Regions from separate parts of the Homo sapiens genome. Here all the other regions are linked to region 1. Evidence: promoter capture Hi-C in human tissues and cell types (Jung and others, 2019). All regions are on one chromosome and are shown on one strand. Each heading gives the region's core, a stretch centred on a gene start or on the middle of the fragment in contact. The rest is flanking DNA. Distances are from core to core; before and after follow the strand shown.

The links. Contacts are between HindIII fragments. The study calls those that stand out against the background at their distance.
Region 2: a fragment that was not itself captured here is called in contact with the fragment with the promoter of HTR1E in region 1 in 4 of the 25 tissues and cell types used here (adrenal gland, bladder, dorsolateral prefrontal cortex and 1 more).
Region 3: a contact is called between a fragment that was not itself captured here and the fragment with the promoter of HTR1E in region 1, in 4 of the 25 tissues and cell types used here (adrenal gland, bladder, ovary and 1 more).

The regions. Positions count from the first base shown.
Region 1 is chr6:86,936,122-86,940,131 of GRCh38, forward strand. HTR1E (5-hydroxytryptamine receptor 1E) reads left to right here and starts at 1,407. Exons shown (of 2, transcript NM_000865.3): 1 at 1,407-1,702. RefSeq lists enhancers at 1,191-1,746, 1,747-2,301. The HindIII fragment of the contact is 9,684 bases long and covers 1-4,010 here.
Region 2 is chr6:86,608,803-86,612,295 of GRCh38, forward strand. No RefSeq gene overlaps it. Among named protein-coding and RNA genes, the nearest start is that of HTR1E, 330 kb to the right of the region's middle. The HindIII fragment of the contact is 4,331 bases long and covers 1-3,493 here.
Region 3 is chr6:86,516,191-86,519,843 of GRCh38, forward strand. No RefSeq gene overlaps it. Among named protein-coding and RNA genes, the nearest start is that of HTR1E, 420 kb to the right of the region's middle. The HindIII fragment of the contact is 5,056 bases long and covers 1-3,653 here.

The sequences.
Region 1 (4,010 bases), core at 157-2,656:
AAGACTATAGTTTACCAACCTTCCTTTCTCTTGTTCAGTGAAATTCCCCTGATAATCCATCAGTCAACCCCTGCTGGCCTTGAGAGGCGCTCTAGAAGGCAGGAGAAGGGCACACAGGCTCGCTTTTTGAACTGAAGAAGGGTTTCATTTGGTTTAGAATTGTCAAACTTCAAAAAATAAATAAATAACTTAAAGTGTTTTTCAAATCAGCCATAAGGCTACAAACCAGAAAGAAAAGTGTGAGGCAGGTGTTTGGGGCAGCTACCCAAGTTGCCTACATGGTTTCCAAGGTCCTTTCAACTCTAAGGTTTGTGTATCAGGCTGTCTACAGATCATACTGTCTCCATAAGATTGTCTAGTTCATTTTATGGCTAGTTTGAACAATCTGATTTTCTTTTTTACAATGGCAGGGGCTCAATCCATGTTAGGCTTCAATGTTGAGTCACCCAAGTTCTCCACAGAGAATAACCAACCAGCCGTAAGGAAGCTTCTTTTAGCAATGCCAGGATTCTGCAAAGTCCCTCCCAGCTTAACTTTTCTGACCTTGCGGCAGCAGAACAACAAAAAGAACAGCCCCTGGCACCCTCAGAAGAGCACAAAGCCCTCTGACAACCTGAGATGGCGCCCAGGTAGACTTCCCTCAAAAAAAAAAAAAATGGCAAGGCTGCTTCAGCAGGTCTTTCAGCCCCAACCACTCCACTCTCCGTCTCCTTTTCTTCACTGCTTTCCCCACCTCTCTTCCCCCCTTCCACTTTGACCCACCCCAATTTTCGTCCACTTCTCCCTCACCCCTTCCTTGTAATCTCTCTCCTTGAGGCATCCTGTGGATGTTGACTGTAATCTCCCCTGGAGGAGGGCTAAGAAATGCACCTCCAGAGGGTCTGTTTGCCATTGGAACCGCGTAGAGAAAGCGTGCAAACCCGTCAACTGCTCCCGCCGTTCCTCTCCCTCCTCAACCCAGGCTCGCTACAGAAGAAGGGAGTAGGGTCTGCCCCCTTGTTGTATCTATTTTCCCCTTCTCCGCCAGGGCTGTGGCCGGCAAGGGGCTCAGGAGGTGAGTCCCTTGCCCACACCTCCAACCCCGCTGGCCCGGTTTATAACATGGACAGCCCTGCCCTCTAGTGTCTGCAACCGGGAGCCCTAAGGCGCCATCAGCTCCAGAATTTCTCTTTTATAACCTAAGCAAGACCTGGAGTACCTCGGAGCTGCGACCTCCAGTTCACAATACCACCTGCCTCACACCCGGGCTCATCTTTTCATCCCACACCCACCACCCCCCTCTCCGTTCACGGTGTCCCGGGAGGCTGCGACCTGCGTAGATGATTTAGCAGACTGCCCCTGCCCATGCTCCTGCTCCTGCTCCTCCTCCTCCTCTTCCCCGCTCTCTCCCTCTCGCCTCCTCTTCCAGTCCAGGCGCCCAGACTCGGCGAAGCGCAGCGCCTGCCACCAGCGGTGCCTCGGGCTGCCCGGCGCGCCGCGCTCCCAGGTTCTGTCTCGCCGCACCCCGGCGGGCACTGGCGCGGGCAAGGACGCTGGCGGGGAGAACGCCCTGGGCTCAACGTACTCCAGAATCGAATGTTGAGAGAAGCAGTGCTCTGATCCAGCTCAGGAGAAAAAGGAGCGGGTTCCGAGTGAGACTTCTGGAGCCAGCTGGACGTGCCGGTTTGCCCAGTGCGGCGCGGCTGCACGCACCGTCCACAAGGTGAGGGGCGCACACCTTCCGGGACGACCTTGGCTTCCCTTCTTACCCCCACCCACTCCAGGTACTCCAGCTCTGGCTTGGGGATGTTTGCCAGCTTTGAGGCGCAAAGGCGGCGGGAGTTGGGATGCGGGGTGTCGGAGGGAGACTGAGGGTCGCCCGGGCACCGTGCCTGCACCCTGGATTATAGTACAGAGAGCATTTCTTGTTCAAACAATTCCTCAAATGTGTGAACCTGAGAATCAACATTGTGTATAACTGTGGTTTGAGCATTTCATCCTGCTTCCTTGCAAAAGGATTAGAGGCAGCTTAAAGATTAAATAGGTATGGAACGGGTGCTGGGGGGGGCCAGGGAAAACTTGAGTAGAAATCACAGGGAGGTGGTGTGCTCCAGGGACCCCGGAAGAACTGTGTGATTTCAAAGCCAGCTGATTAAAAAACCTTTGATTAGAAAGGACTGCACTGTTGCTCCAGCCCTCAGAAAATAATACTGTGCTCAGTCCTGATAAACAAAATGCCCAGGTGTGGAGGTAATGAGGCAGGCTCATTTTTTTTAAAATACAAAATAAATCTTGGAAGTAAGAGTTAAGATGAGAAGTTTGGTCTTAAGCCATCTCCACCCAATACTGCAAGGTGAGAGGCTGACCCCCTACCTAACGAAAAGGAAAGGAAATTGAGTCTAAAGGGAAGTGATTCCAGCTCCTATCACAGGATCATAGTGGTTTTGCATCTATATGTATATTTCTGCCTGTGCCCAGTTTTGGAAGAAAGGACCTTGTATTCAACCCAACGCTGCTTGTCCTTGAGTTAGAAGGATAAGGCAGATGGTGTCAGCATCCCAAGGTGTTTCTTCCTAACCTTTCTTATTGTCCTTCCTTGCCTCCTGCACCAAATCTCTTGGGGAGGGAGCAGCCCAGGAGGAAATAATAGATCGTCAAATGGGTTGGGGGAGCAGTGTTTTTTCCAAAATAATTTAGGCTCATTTTATCATTCTTATGTTTTCCCTCAAAGCTCTAAGCAGTACATCGTCCTAAGCTGAATTTAACATTGCTCCAGAATATATATTTATCATAGTTGTACATTCAGACACAATATGCATAACCTTAAACAGCCAGGATGCACTTGTGAATCAGGGGCTTCCCTTACTTAATCCTGCGCAAGAGAGGCAAAGCAGGCACGTGGGTCTGATTCCCTGTGCGGTCTCCTTCATGAGGAGCATATGTGAAATACCTTTGAAATACAGAGAAGATTGAGACAGCTTTTCTCTTTCTGGTACAGTTGCTTTCCTGCTGAATTAAATGAGATGACCCTGTCTTCAACAAATAAATGAATGGAGGCATTTGAGGCCCATTTAACAAATGCACAAAATATGCCTGCCTCTGTTTTTCCTCCCTTCAGAGCTTTAGCCTCCAGCCCACGGAGTTGTGATGATGAAGCCCACCTCCTAAGTGGGACTCAGCTCAGTTTCTGTATCATATTTAAAACAGAGTATGTTGCTTATTTCTAAAATTGCATAGCACCTCACCACTAACTATTTTGCTGCATAGAGGTATTTCATCACTAAGAGAGCTATATAGAGAAACTCACTCAAATCCTGATTCATCATTGTTGATAGAACTTAACTATTGTGTCATCATCACCTGACATGGGCTGCAGAAGCTCCAAGGATTGCTATAGATCTCAATTGAGACTTCTAGTAACAGAGCTAGAAAGGAGCCTTTTAAAGTGTAGCCATGACTCTGGTCATTAGGTATATGCATGTTCAAATATTCCCTTACGTGCTTGTTTTCGCTTTCATAACAATTTCCAGGGATGAAAACTTAGCAGATTATTTTTATAATGAAGAGTATTCAAATTAACAATGTGTATCCACCAGCTAACAAGTTTTAAATTCCACAGAAATCAGCATCACAAGCATAGTAAAATCAAGTTTTCATTCTTTCCTCTTCTGCCATAATGACTTCATTCAAGGCCTAGTCCCAGACCAAGTGCATGGAAACGATGGCTCATGTCTCTCAACATTTGCCCAAGGGAATGGTGCCTACCTTGCAACTCAGCGTGATGTCACCTTTATTAGCCATTCTGGTGTCTATACAAAATATTTGCTCCCCATTTCTTCTTATCGATGCCTGGTCAGCAACAATCATGTAAATAAGTTTCCATTCTTTTGAGGAAGATAACGAAGTCAGCGTTTTTCAGAAGTGGTGCCTAGGAAGAGACAAAATCCAGGACACACCTCTAGTTCAGGTAACACTGCAATATATTTCAATTTCCTGCTGCGTGATGGGGTTATTATTGAAGAGGGAAGTAA
Region 2 (3,493 bases), core at 849-3,348, 330 kb before region 1:
AGAGCCAAAATAACTTCTAAGTTTTGTTTTGCAGAAGATATAAAAGGAAATGGAAAAACACTGTTAATATAGAAGACCAAAAAGAGGATAAAGGAAAGCAGTTTGCTTTTATTGCAAGGAGAAGTTTTTCTCTAATTTTTAAAATGTTTATTTATATGAAAATAATAGAAATTGTGGCAATTTGGGAAGATGAGCAGGACGCTTACCTTGAATAAGAAAGGAAAGCTTCAATTCTCACATAGCTACACAAAGTAATCTTTTCAAAATGCAAATCTGACCGCATCTCTGTCATTCTCCATTGTTGTTAAAAGACCAAAATTCTTAACACACATACAAGGCTTTGCCTCACCTTGTCCCTGTGTACTTCTCTCCCCTCCTAATCATAGTCTATCAATTTCCTCCATCCACTGAAGTTTGCCCCCAACCTGCTGGTCATCCTGGCCATCTTTCAAGCACTAGCCATCTTGGCCGTCTTTCAATCTGTCAGTCACCATGTTCTTTCTTGCCCAAGGTCTTTTTAAGTGCTCTTTCCTCTGCCTTAATACTCCTCCTTCTACCTGAACTCCCACCTGCACCTACTCAGTTCTTACTCATCCACCATATCTCAGCCAATATGTCAATTTCTCAAAGGCTTTTCTGATCCTCTTGGCCCAATTTAAATTGAGTCACATTCTTACAGGCCACGTATGTTTCTTTTATGCTAATTATGTATGTTTCTGTTATACCATTAATTGTATGGTCATATGTAGTGTGTGATTGTTTAAAGAGGTCTATTTCTCCCATCAAACTATGAGTTCTGGAAGGCAGTCCTCACTCTTTTGCTCACCAATGTTGTCCTGAGTGGCCATCACAATGTCTGCTGCATATTTGTTGTGCTAATAAATACTTTTTCAATTAGTGTTAAATGTTATGGACTGTAGCAGGACAAGCCGCATACAAAACCCCTCAGACATGGAGATAGTGAAGGGAATGGCTTTAATCAGCTGGAAGCATCAGCAGACTAGCCTCTTAAAATCCAAGCTTGTCGGGTGCACAATTTCTGTGCCTTTTAAGGGCTCACAACACTAAGGGTTTCACATGAAAGGGTCGTAATTGATTGAGCAAGCCAGGGGGTACGTGACAGGGGCTGCATGCACCGGTGGTCAGAGTGAAACAGGACAGACCGGGAAGTTTCACAATGTCTTTCCATACAACGTCTGGAATCTATAGATAACATCAGTTGCTAGGTCAGGGGTCAAATTTTAACAGACTTAGGTCAGGCAGGCCCAGGCCTGGTTTCAGGTCTGGTTCCTTTGTTTTGGGTCTGTTCGTAGGCACCAGGCTACCTGCCTTTAGTTTTGCTTCTCTTTCTTTTTCTGAGTGTAGAACAATATAAAACAATATGAGAGGGTCTGTCTCTCTTCTCTCAGACCACTTAAAAATAATCTAATAAAGGGACATGGAAGAATCTGGAAGCCATCAGTCGCAGCAAACAGGAACAGAAAACCAAGCACTGCATGTTCTCACTCATAAGTGGGAGTTGAACAATGAGAACACATGGACACAGGGAGGGGAACATCACACACTGGGGCCTGTGGGGGGTGGAGTGGGGGGCTAGGGGAGGGATAGTATTAGGAGAAATACCGAATGTAGATGATGGGTTGATGGGTGCAGCAAACCACCATGGCACATGTATACCTGTGTAACAAACCTGCACATTCTGCACATGTATCCCAGAACTTAACATAAAAAAAACAAAACAGAACAAAACAAAATGGAACCAAAAAGATATAAGCTTTGAAATCTGTATTAGGAATGGGACATAAAGTGAGTCTTCAGTCTTTTAACCTGGTGTCATATAAATTATTCTAGAGGTACAACCAATCAGGTGAGGTTTGAGGGATTTGTACTTGAAAAATCATAGGAGATACCTCTCTTGTGGAATTTAGTGTGAAGATTAAATGAATTAGTAAATTAAGTATAATGATAAGTATTTAAGTTTAATAAGTAAATGAATTACTAAATATAGTACATATGAAATATATAAAATAGTACCTGGGCCCATAGTAAAAATTAAATATATTATTGTTCTCATTATTGTTTTTAAAATCCGAAGAAAATTTAATTGCCTATTTTGGTGCCTAGAGTCTCATGTAATGGGGCTGGGGGATGGGGTAGGAAGACATTAAGACTTTTAAATAAACCATAAGAAAAGCCACCTCAAAGCCTAAATAGCTCAGGGCTAGGAGTCAGTCTTGTCTGAAGCCCATCACCAATGACCTATCACAAAGGCCTTTAACCCATCTGAATCCTAGTCGCTTCAGGCTTGGCTTACCATTTTTGCTATGTGAGCTTCCTAAGTCACTTGTCTTTTCTGAGACTGACTTTCTTTGCTTAAAACAGCATTTGTTATTTTGTATCCTGCACAATTTTTGTCATTTCCTTGTGCCACTTATACCATTTAAAAATATTTTTTCTTTAATTGGCTCACTTTTTATTTAAATAAATCTATGTAAAAAGGAAACTTTACATATTGCCATAAATGGAAAATTAATAACATAGTAGTTCCCCAAAATAGGGTGACAATAAAGTTTATAATAATACTTAAAAACAATGTAATAAACTCTGTCTGGATATTATTGCCTGACAAAAGTTCTGAGGCTTAAAGTCTGTTATGTTTTTATGAAAATGGAGATGTGTTCTAAAGGTTTTATAGAAATATCAGCACCAAACTGAAATTTTCTCCTTACACAAAGTCCTGAAAGAGAATTGTAAATAAGATATCTCCTTTGTCACATAGTTCCTCATTGAATGTCATGTAAGGTCGCCACCTAAAGTCATCCCAAGATCATCTGCAAGACACACCTCACATTTGAATAACATGGATCTAAAAATTGGAGATCATGATAAAAATACACAGCCCTGTGGGGTTTTTGAGAATAAAATTAGATGTAGTATTTGAAACTGCTGGCCGGGCGCGGTGGCTCACGCCTGTAATCCCAGCACTTTGGGAGGCCGAGGCGGGCGGATCACGAGGTTAGGAGATCGAGACCATCCTGGCTAACACGGTGAAACCCCATCTCTACTAAAAATACAAAAAATGAGCAGGGCGCAGTGGCGTGTCCCTGTAGTCCCAGCTACTCCGGAGGCTGAGGCAGGAGAATGGTGTGAAACCGGGAGGCGGAGCTTACAGTGAGCCGAGATCGCGCCACTGCACTCCAGCCTCGGCGACAGAGCGAGGATTCGGTCTCAAAAAAAAAAAAAAAAAAAAAAAAACTGCTCTGTAAATTTTAAAAATCTATGTAGTCGTGCATATTTTAAAAATGAGATAGCATTTACGTGCTAATTTTGTTTTTTATGTTACAAGGGACAGAAACAAACTTGGAAAAGCTTAAGAGAGATAGGGTTTTTTTTTAATGGAACAGTAATTACATTTTAGCACTATTTGTTCTGATACCTCCCTCTTTATTGTGTGCGTGTGTTTGCAGTTCTATTGCTATCATATTCTCATCTT
Region 3 (3,653 bases), core at 1,110-3,609, 420 kb before region 1:
GTAGATGCTATATAGTAAGTGTTTTTCTACTGAGGACATGAAGTCAGAAGCACATTGCTCACTGATGCACGGTTTTAAGGTGGCACGTGACTTCCAGTTCCTTCTCCATAGCAGACTCTGGGGCAGGGATGCAAATGAGCTGAATCTCTGAAGGGCCTTAAGTGGTTGCCATCTCCACCTTTCAATCTGGTCATTCCTGCAGTGGCTGAGGCATGTCCTAACCGTTACTCAAAGTCCCCTTTAGTCCATTAGCAAAACATGCTTAAGTCTGTCTCCAGTTTCTGGCAGAAATTGGTCAGATAGTTGGTTTCCATACCTGAGCACTGCTACTCCCAAAACATCAGTTAGGGGCCAGGATCAAGTACCCAAGCAGAGACAAAATACAGAATGGATCTAGTCTCCGTTTTCACCAGTAACTCTCTGGTCCCATGCAGACAGGACTCCTAATTCATGAGCAATTGGGAGTCTATTAAAGGTAACATTAAAATGGAAATTCCCAAGTAGTAATTTGGCAAGGACTTTTTTTCTTAGACTTCTTCAATTTAATGTCATAAAACATGTTTCCAATATCTTGCTTTTGTCTCAGTGCTGCTTGTGTTAGGTCCTCATTATCCCTTTTATATGAACGTTCAGTGTTTTGACATTCACAGTGAAAAAGCATGTTGACTCGTATTTAGGACAATTATTTTTATGTCAAGTACAGGTAGAGTCTCACCTTAGCTTTGAAATTATTCAGAATAGCAATCTCCTTAACAATCATTGTTCCTTTCCTGTATCGTCCTGATTTTAAAGAGACACAGTCCAAAGACGACTCCTCACTCACTGCTCTCTCAAACATTTAAAGAGCACACAGAAATTCTTATTAAAATCCTCTCTGCTCTACTTATTAAAATCTCTGCTTATTAAAATCCTCTGTGCTCTATGGAACAGAATATTGTAGGTCAATAAATCTAATGATTCTAACTTTCAATAAGAGGTGTTTTGGTTATGTTATCAGTTATTTATTGCTGCATAACAAATTTAAACCAACATACTGGCTTAAAATAATAAAGTGTACCCCCAAGCTCCCAATATACTCTTAATGTATTATCCCAAGAGAGACTTCTTTCTCATCCACATGTGTCTTTCCAGCATGGTATTTGTTTACACACCACTCTGGACCATCCCCTCCTCATAATGCATCCCCTTCCAGGTTATATTTCTCCCTCCATGTGCAACATCCTGGGATTTTTTTTTTTTTCATAGAGCCTGACTGCTTTCCTTCCATGATTCTTCATTTTGTATTTTTGTCTTTTTATCCTCAGAGAGCAGGAGAGATAGGAAAACTATAAATCCTGAATGTTAGTAATGTATATTCTCTTATATACTTATTATTTATAACACCTTCATTATTATTATTTTTCCTCCCTTTTGGGTAACAAACTGATTTGGAAAAGCAAGGCCGCATAGTGTATAAATGTAAGGAGCTTGGATTTGAATCCATGTCTGCCTGGTTCATGCTACTCCCCAAAGCAGCAGGACAGTGGTGCTGCCTAATTTCCATTTCAGTTATCTTTTCAAATATTTTATCTTTTCTATAAAATAGAATTGAAAAATGCAAAATAATATTCACAGATTTGTTCATAAAGAACTTTATGATATAGTCAAATGTGTGCACTTAATAATCATCTGCATTTTTGATTAATTGAAAAGGGGGAATCATTTTTCTTCAAAAATTTTTTTTAGTGATAAACAGTAATACAAACAGAGCAAGACACAGTTCCTGGCCTATCCAAGTTCAAAATCTCTAGGGGATTTTCACTCTGAGAACTGCACACACCATCCTTTGAAAAACACTGACGTTCCATTTTCTAACCCTAGCACCTAGCAACCAGACATGGTAAGGATTCAGCAAATGCTTTTTGAATGAAATAAATCTGTATTAGACTTTTTTCCAATACCATAATTTCAGTATTATGATTGCACATTTGTGACTGTTTTAATTTTTTAAAGACTAGCTTGAATTCATTATTGTGTCCAATTTCACTTCAAAACTCAGGGCTTTCCTTGTCCTTGATTTTGGTGTTGTAACAGTCACAAATAAATTTTTTGCTTTACTCACAGGCAACATGAGGAGAGGGAGAAAGATCTTCCTTTAAAATAAGTTGGAAGAGGAAGGCAAAAAGCTAAAGAAAGCATTAAGATTTATATGGCTGAGAAAGTGGAATTTAATGAATTAAGAACTAAAAAAGAAGAAAATGGGAGGGTCCAGCATAGGTAAAATCAGTTTAAGCAGAAAGAAAAGGAGTGATGCAGAAAATTCTGGGTCAAGAAGGTTCTTGGGCAGAACTCTCCCAGAAGTGTCGTTCCCTTAAAACAATTTGGTTATTTGAAAAATTAAATGGTAGTGGTAGGTGATTAGCCCAGGAATAAGGAATGAAAAAATGTGACAATATGTGGTATATCCATTGGATTGAGTGTCTAGCCCAAGGTTTGAATCGTGACACAATTCCCCCAGCAAGCCTGCCATCCTAGACTTGAACACTTCAAAGGGTGGAGAATCATGGAGGATGCGCATTATGTTGCCAGGTAACTTTGTCAATAAATTTATCCTTTTCCTGAGCTAATGTTTCTCTTCCCATAAATTTCCACTCTTGGAGTGATATGGAAAATTTTGGCTTCACTTATAATCATTTATCACCTCTTTGAAAACAACTCCTTTACTCATGAGTTGGTTACTGTTAATTTGTGGATTGTCTCTATTCAACTAATGAATATGCTGTTGTTGGGTGCTATAACAAGCTTAACCCCCCAAATTAAAATAATAATACACTAACAATGATGACATTTTTTGGAGGGTTTCTAAAAGCTTAAGTGGCATTGAAGGGTAGCAATAGTTTGTGGTAGAAGACAGCTTATGTTTCTCAAATCACTTTAGTAAAATAATTATGTCAGGCTGGGCACGGTGGCTCAGGCCCATAATCCCAGCATTTTGGGAGGCCGAGGCAGGTGGATCACTTGAGGTCAGGAGTTTGAGACTAGCCTAGCCAACATGGTGAAACCTTGTCTCTCCTAATAGTACAAAACACATTTAGACAGGCGTGGTGGCAGACACCTGTAATCTCAGCTATTTGGGAGGCAGAGACACAAGAATCGCTTGAACCTGGGAGGCAGAGGTTGCAGTGAGCCAAGATCATGCCACTGCACTCAAGCCTGGGCAACAAAGTGAAACTGTGTCCCAAGAAGAAAAAAAAAAGAAAATAATTATGTCATAATGCACAATCCTGTTTTCAAACATGTTAAAATGTAATAGATTTTCTCATTTCATATTTAATGTTTCTTTTTAGGATTAAAGTAATTTAAGGTATCCATTCAAGCCTCCTTAAGAACACTTTTCCAAAATTATACTACCACTGTTATTTTGAATTACCCCAGCAAGAAATGTGCTAGCAAGAAAAGCCAGCTTTGATGGATATTTCCAAGGACTTCTTTGCAGGAGTTTACCTAGTCATTTTATTTTGTTATCTGGAAGGAAATAACTGAATTTAGTTTTAATTTTTTTAATTGTGAAATATGTCACCTATGAGGAATAGTTTATTGTGATAGCATTTTGGTGGGTCAGCTTGACTAGGATGAATTACAATCCCTAGAATTACATTTCTAGTCGCTTTCCT